Linked DNA regions of Homo sapiens: region 1 is linked to region 2. The links are contacts of gene promoters, found by promoter capture Hi-C in human tissues and cell types (Jung and others, 2019). All regions are on one chromosome and are shown on one strand. Each heading gives the region's core, a stretch centred on a gene start or on the middle of the fragment in contact. The rest is flanking DNA. Distances are from core to core; before and after follow the strand shown.

Region 1 (3,938 bases), core at 580-3,079, 170 kb before region 2:
AGCTTTTTATAAGAATATACTTACTGTTTTGTTCTTCACCAAGAGCAACCAGTGTTTCAAGAACTTTTATTCCTTCTTGAACCGCTAAAAGCTCTATGTTACTGGCTGGTCTGTTTCTTTCAACAGCTTTTAGCTTTTCAACCACTATTGGAGCTAATGAATGAATATAAGGAGTTGAAAGGGCACGATTGGAATGCTGGAAGACTGAGAGGAGAAGCTGGTAACATTTGGCTTGAACCTATATAAGAAGAACATATTATCAATTAACATGTGTATAGTTCTTATTTGCTCTACAATCACATTGCATCTTACTATGTACTGAAAATAAGTGATACTGCAGGACAAAAATGGAAATTACATTTTCTACTTAGAGAAATGGAGTAGAATAGAATTTTGTGACAAAAATTAGTCAAAAATGTTCATATATTTTAATGACCAAATCACCATGCTTATACAATTCCTGTATTTCTTTTTTCTTTTTTTGAGATGGAGTCTCGCTCTGTCGCCAGGCTAGAGTGCAGTGGCACCATTTTGGCTCACTGCAATCTCTGCCTCCCGGGTTCAAGCGATTCTCCTGCCTCAGCCTCCCAAGTAGCTGGGATTACAGGTGCGCACCACCACACCCAGCTAATTTTTGTATTTTTAGTAGAGACGGGGTTTCACCATGTTGGTCAGGACGCTCTCAATCTCCTGACCTTGTGATCTGCCCGCTTTGGCCTCCCAAAGTGCTGGGATTACAGGTGTGAGCCACCATGCCCGGCCAATTCCCATATTTTAATACTGTGAAATAAGTTAGAAATCAGTTATTCCCACTTCTGTTTTTAATTCTTCCTTTAATGTACAATTGTCCCTCCCATTTTAACCAAATATATTTACTAAGGAAGGTTAAATATTTGAATGATCTGAAACAAAGCTATAAAAATACATTGCTTAGATATCTCAAAACCACTTGATTCCCTGGAAATGACTGTTAACAATGTAAGGTTTCCAGACCTAGAAAATAAAGTCTTACTGGCTCCACTTTGTATTAGAAAGGCTTCAGATTAACACTTTTTTAAAAAAATGAAGGAAGGAAAGAAGGAAGAGAGGGAGGGAAGTCCCACCAATATATGGGACACAGTGGAAGAAAACCATTTCAGTGCTTTGGTAGAACACAAGTGGCTAAATATGGCTAGACACAAGAAAAACCTGAAGAACATTTTAAATATACAGATCTTGGAGCCACCTATCTGGAGACTCAGATTCAGGAAGACAGTACTGGAATCCAAGAATGTTTCCTTTTTTTTTTTTTTTTTTTTTTTTGAGACGGAGTCTCACACTGTTGCCCAGGCTGGAGTGGTGCAATGGCACAATCTCAACTCACTCCACCTCCTGGGTTCAAGTGATTCTCCTGCCTCAGCCTCCCAAGTAGCTGGGATTACAGGCGCATGCCACCACACCTGGCTATTTTTTTTGTATTTTTAGTAGAGATGGGGTTTCACTACAGGCTGGTCTCGAACTCCTGACCTCCTGATCTGCCTGCCTTGGCCTCCCTAAGTGCTGGGATTACAGGCGTGAGCCACCGCACCTGGTCTTCAAGAATGTTTCTGCTTTTTAAAATTTCTGACGTGTAGCAGGCTTGAGAATCAAGTTTAGACTCTGACATTGTAAAATAAAAAATCTTACTTTCTAGACAAACTAGTTTCTAGCAGGTTCATTAAAACGTCAATAATATAAGCTTCTCCTTTAATGTCCTTAGCGTCATTTAAATAAACACTGGAAAACATAATCATAGACTCTTGTCTCTACCAGTATGCCCTGGGGTTAATCAAATATTTCAGATATTGAAGAATTTCTACATATGTGAATAAACATACACATGTGTTCTAGTGCTTAAACCCAGTGATTTGTTTCAGTTTTTCCATTTAAAAGCCATAGTGCAAATACTTAGCTTTTCATTATGTATCACATATTTTAATGAATCAATCTGACATTTTCCTGATAAAGGGAAATGTTTTTATCTATGTCTGTGTAACGTGTAACTTACCCATGGGTCGCATGAATTTAATGCATTTTTAAATCTGTTCATGCAGCCATTCTGTAATGACTGGACTCCTATTATTTCATTACTAGCAGACCACAGGAAGAGTGCAATTGCTGTTAGCATGCTTACTTCATCAGGTGTAGGTACAGAGTCTTCTGAAAATGAAAAATGAAAGAAGTGTGCTGTTTCTAAAACATTTTGGCATTTTATTTTTTTATTTTTGTAGAGAGAGACGTTGTCTTGCCATGTTGTCCAGGCTGGTCTTGAACTCCTGAGCTCAAGTGATCCTCCTGCCTTGGCCTCCCAAAGTGCTGGGATTACAGGTGTCAGCCACTGTGCCTGGCCAGAATTTTAATCTTGAACAATCATCTCTCTCTCCCCACAACATTTATAGTAGTACTTGCCTTAATCTAATACAGTCCACAGACAACTGTAAGAAGTTCAATGTATAAAGTTAAATGTATGCAGTTATATTTAATGCTAAATTATTATAAAATATTCTAACTAATTTTAAAATCCAGAGTACATTTTTAAGTGATATCTCCTTTCAATTTAGTAAATATGAAAACCTGTAAATTCCATATAACCATTAAAAAAATCGGTTGGGTGCAGTGGCTCACGCCTGTAATCCCAGCACTTTGGGAGGCCGAGGCAGGCGGACCACCTGAGGTTGGGAGTTCGAGACCAGCCTGACCACAAAATTAGCTGGGCATGGTGGTGCATGCTTGTAATCCCAGCTACTTGGGAGGCTGAGGCAGGAGAATCGCTTGTACCGGGGAGGTGGAGGTTGCAGTGAGCCAAGATTGTGTCATTGCACTCCAGCCTGGGCAACAAAAGCGAAACTCTGTCTCAAAAAAAAAAAAAAAAAAACTTGGACAATTTCCTGAAGACAGTGTTCTAAGAATTTTAAGGAATTTCTTGCCATTACATTTATTCAGGAATAGATACAACTTGAACAGAAATATAGTACGTAATTAGAAATAACTAGAAATATGAACATTTATTCTAAAGAACAATATTTCTGAACATATAAAATACGAGTTCCAAACATTTTGTGATTATCATTTCTTCAATAAAACTGATCCCTATCTTTTGTGTAAATTTGACCTATTTTGGCAACTGTAAATACCCAGTGATAATCAGTACTTTAGAAGGATTACAAACATATATATGTGACATGCTAACATTATCTCATAATAAGGGTACCAGCTTTTTGTAATATGGAATAAAGGGTTAAGAACAATAGTCTAGAAAAAGTCCATTAACTTAATGTAAAGAAATAAAGTTTAAAAAAAGAGATGTCGGCTGGGTGTGGTGGCTCATGCCTGTAATTCCAGCACTTTGGGATTTCTAGAACAGACTGGACAACATGGTGAAACATCATTTCTACTAAAAATACAAAAATTAGCTGGGCATGGTGGCACACGCCTGTAATCCCAGCTATTTGGGAGGCTGAGGCTACAGAATTGCTTGGATCCGGGAAGCAGAGGTTGCAGTGAGCCAAGATTGCGCCACTGCACTCCAGCCTGGGTGACAGAGTGAGACTCAGTCTCAAAACAAACAAACAAAAAAACAAACAAAAGAGATGTAAAATTTGAAGGATTTAATCAATTTATAATAACCTGAGTCACGAATGTTAAAAACCTGAGAACCCACCCAGACTAGGCAGCTCACTCCTGTAATCCCAGCACTTTGGGAAACTGAATTGGGAGGACTGCTTGAGCTCAGGAATTCAAGACTAGCCTGGGCAATATGCTGAGACCCTGTCTCTACAAAAAACAAAAAAATTAGCCAGGCTTGGTGGTGCATGCCTGCAGTCCCAGCTACCTGGGAGGCTGAGGCAGGAGGATCACTTTAGCCCTAGAGGTTAAGGTGGCAGTGAGCTGCGTTCATGCCACCACACTCCAGCCTGGGT
Region 2 (3,891 bases), core at 1,078-3,577:
CGGGTTCAAGCGATTCTCCTGCCTCAGCATTCCGAGTAGCTGGGATTACAGGCGCCCACCACCACGCCCGGCTAATTTTTTATATTTTTAGTAGAGACGGGGTTTCCCCATGTTGGCCAGGCTGGTCTCAAACTCCTGACCTCAGGTGATCCACCCACCTTGGCCTCCCAAAGTGCTGCGATTACAGGCATGAGCCATGGCACCTGGGCCTGGTTTTCTTCTGTTCTGACAAGCTACTCCTTTTCTGTCTCCTTTCCTGGTTCATCTTCAACTTCTTTTCTTCTATTTTTTTTTTTTTAACCTTTTCTATGGTTCTAACTTCCTCTTTTCTAGATATTCTAGCATCACTGGGCCCGGTCCTTAGACTTGCTCTTTTCTACTTGGACTCACTCCCCTGGTGATCACCTCCAGGTTTGTGGCTTTAAATTCCACGGACACAATGATGGTTCTCAAAAGCACGCTTCCACCATGGACTCTCTCCTGAACTCCCAACTGCCTCTGTCCAACCTGCTCCCTCCTAAAATGCCCTTGACTCTATTCCTTCTGCTGTCTTGGCCTGGTCAATTTCTACTTCCTACAGATTTCAGCTCAAAATCCCAGACACTCCTTCACAGGCTCTTCCACAGTGCTCATCCCCTTTATTAAAATTGCTTATTTAACTATTTTCCAAAATAGAGCATGAATTACTACAGGTAAGGGACCAGGCTCAATAATGAATGAGTGAGTACCAAAATATCTCCAGATACCCCATCCAGGACTTGTCACCTGCTTTTCTCTACATTTATAGTGCAATATCTGCATTCTCTCTGTACCCACCAATATCCACTCATCTATCAGGATCAACACAGCCTTCTTTGATGCTGGAGGGTCAGCTAGTATGGGCTTGCCACTCCACCTTGCCCAACCTTCAACACAGCCCTGACTGCTTTTTAAACTAATTAGTGAGCTCTTTGGGGAGCAGATTCTACATCTTATTCACTCATCTGGAAGAAACCTCCATCATAATCACTAAAAAATAATATTTGTCCATCTTACTAATGCCCAGAAATTATTTTGGCTATGCCTCCACTTCCTTTCCAGCAGACTACATACAGCCTGGCCAACACGGTGAAACCCTGTCTCTACTAAAAATAAAAAAATTAGTTGGCTGTGCTGGCGGGCACCTGTAGTCCCAGCTACCTGGGAGGCTGAGGAAGGAAAATCGCTTGAACCTGAGAGGCAGAGGTTGCAGTGAGCCCAGATCGTGCCACTGCATTCCAGCCTGGCGACAGAGTGAGAATCTGTCTCAAAAAAAAAAAAAAAGAAAAGAAAAGAAAGAAAATGTCACCAGGTGATAACTACTATGTTGACAACCGAAGTAGTGGAAGGGGGAACAGCAAGGGCAGAGCGGGGTTTCTTGTATAGGCAGGTTGTTTGAGGAAGGCTGCTCTGATAAGCTGGCATGGGAAGCAGTGCAGGATAAGGGAGGGATTTCCCCATGCAGTTATCTGGGGAAGAAGCTTTCCAGAAAGAAGAAACAAGCAGTGCAAAGGCCTAGAGGCTGGAGGATGCTTGGCTGTGCACCAGGAACAGCAAGGAAGCCAGCGTGGCCGGAGTAGGGGGTGCGAGGGGCCTTGCCTGTGAGCCTTAATAAATGTTTATAGGATTCTGATGAGACAGGAAAGCTACGGGGAAGGTCGGAGCAGGGGAGAGTCTGGTTCTTACTTAAAGGAACATTCCAGATGCTGAGGTGTGGAGAAGAGGTAGGGGGTGGAGGTTCAGGGGTGAGGATACGGAGTGGGAACAGGAACTGCGGCCAGGCAATTGGGAAACTACTGCAACTCTCCACGGAAGAGATTTTTAGCCAAAGATTGTTCAGCCAGTCTATGAGTATTTCAGGCCTCCGTATTTTCCATGTGTCAAGCCACTAGGCCTATTCGTCTTCCACTAGACCCCGCCCCACAACTGCTGCCTGGGAAATATTTGTTACTTGCACTGATAAAAATTCTTCACGGGAAGGAAATGGCTTTCAGTCCCCACCCCGCTCCACGATCCTTTCCCTGGATTTGGGGAGGGCCCCACACCCGGGCTGCGGACCTGGGCCTGCTCTCCCAGTGCTGACCCAGCCGGGGCCAGGGGCTTCGGATCAGCGTCCGCGTCCTGAGCTGGGGACGCAGGATTGGCGAGTCCCGCCCCGGCTGGGCCTGCAGCCCCTCGTACGTGGCCCCCCGGCCCCCGCTCCCCGCGCTCCCTCGGCTGCCCCCTGCCCTGCTCACCTGCGCCGCCGCCGCCGCCGCCGCCGCCGCCGGCCGGAGACCCGCGGCTTCGGGAGAGCTGGTTCTCAGTTTCGTTTTCCCCTTGGACTCCGCCTTCCCTGCAGCCGCCCGGCCCCCTCTCGCACAAGCCCTCGTCTGCTACGGGATTGGGGTAAATTGGCGCTGGATCCAGAGTGCGCGCGAGAGGCACTGGCGGGCGGGCTTGGCACCGGCGGGCGGGCTTGGCACCGGCAGGCGGGCTTGGCACCCACGTGCTGCCCCTGCACGGCCAGGACCCTGCACCCCCATCCCCCGCCCCCGGGGCTCCTAGGGTTCTCCGCTGGCCTAGTCCGCTGGCCGCACTAGGTTCTCGAATCAAGGGTTCCACTTACTCTCAACACAAATATTTGGGGTGGGGTTGGGAAGATGGATCTTACCAGCTCCATTCTACAATAGAGGAAACTGAGTAAATGAACTCACCCAGGGGTCCTGCCGCTCGTAAGTGGCAAAGCCAGGATTCAGTTCAAGTCGGGGCCTGTAAACACCAAAGCACTCTTTCCCTCTTGCCACACCGCGGCCCCCTCACCTTTACAAGCCTGGGGATCAGAGGCCTGGGGGCGTAATCTCCTTCACTCCGCTCCCACCCATCCATTCATTCATGAGCAGACACTTGCCAGCCGCTGTAAAAGCACCTGTGGGCCAGTCCTGCTGCTAAATAGAGACACCTGCTTCCTACAGTACCCCAGGGAGCTTCCTACCATAGTCCAACACCAGTAGTCCTCGATTTATAGAAATTCTACTCACCTGATGGACTGCGACACACTCCCAGAGTCACACAGAGTTCCAGAGTTCATTGGCACAGTGACTAATGAGTATTGAGGCACAGAGAATTTGGATTAACACAGGTAGTAAGCAGCGGAGTTAGAATTATAACCAGGAGTTTGTACTCTCAGTATCTTAGCTGGGATAAGAGAGGAAGGTGGTCCAAAGACAGACCTCAAATATACATTAAATATTATGCCTAGGCCGGCGCGGTGGCTCATGCCTGTAATCCCAGAAATTTGGGAGGCTGAGACGGGCGGATCACCTGAGGTCAGGAGTTCAGGACCAGCCTGGCCAACATGGCAAAACCCCGTCTCTACTAAAAAACACAAAAATTAGCTGGGCGTGGTGGCAGGCACCTGTAATCCCAGCTACTCCAGAGGCTGAGGCAGGGAGAATTGCTTGAACCTGGGAGGCAGAGATTGTAGTGAGCTGAGATCATGCCACTACACTCCAGCCTGGGTGACAGAGTGGGACTCCAATTCAAAAAAAAAAAAAAAAAATTACACCTAGGCAGGCATCCTCTCCAGCCTCCCTTCTCCATCCCCCAACAACCCCACATTGCAGGGTATCAACAACTAAAATCTACACTTTCCTTGTAGCTCTGGTCCTGGGCATAGCTTAAGTCCCCTATATGTAAAGCACTGGCGGGAGGTTTAGAAGGTAGACATGAGGCAGAGCCATCTTTTTGTGGCATTTCCAGGTGACAAGAAAACTCTGACAGTGCTGTGTGTCCATTTGTCAGCTTTGTGGGTGTGGGATGGCTGTGGCAGCAGCAATGGCAGTAGCAAGGACAAGTTTTTCTGACTTTTTGAGCCCCTGAACTGCCCAAGAG

Evidence for each region. The method cuts DNA at HindIII sites, captures the fragments that hold promoters and counts their contacts. A contact is called where the count stands out against the background at its distance.
Region 1: a fragment that was not itself captured here is called in contact with the fragment with the promoter of EIF2AK2 in region 2 in 1 of the 25 tissues and cell types used here (pancreas).

What each region holds. Positions count from the first base shown.
Region 1 is chr2:36,988,622-36,992,559 of GRCh38, forward strand. HEATR5B (HEAT repeat containing 5B) reads right to left here. Exons shown (of 36, transcript NM_019024.3): 34 at 2,027-2,178; 35 at 25-238. Among named protein-coding and RNA genes, the nearest start is that of STRN, 24 kb to the left of the region's middle. The HindIII fragment of the contact is 5,900 bases long and covers 1-3,938 here.
Region 2 is chr2:37,154,653-37,158,543 of GRCh38, forward strand. It overlaps EIF2AK2 (eukaryotic translation initiation factor 2 alpha kinase 2), which reads right to left and starts at 2,328. Exons shown (of 17, transcript NM_001135651.3): 1 at 2,256-2,328. RefSeq lists silencers at 2,118-2,237, 2,438-2,627 and an enhancer at 2,258-2,387. The HindIII fragment of the contact is 10,738 bases long and covers 1-3,891 here.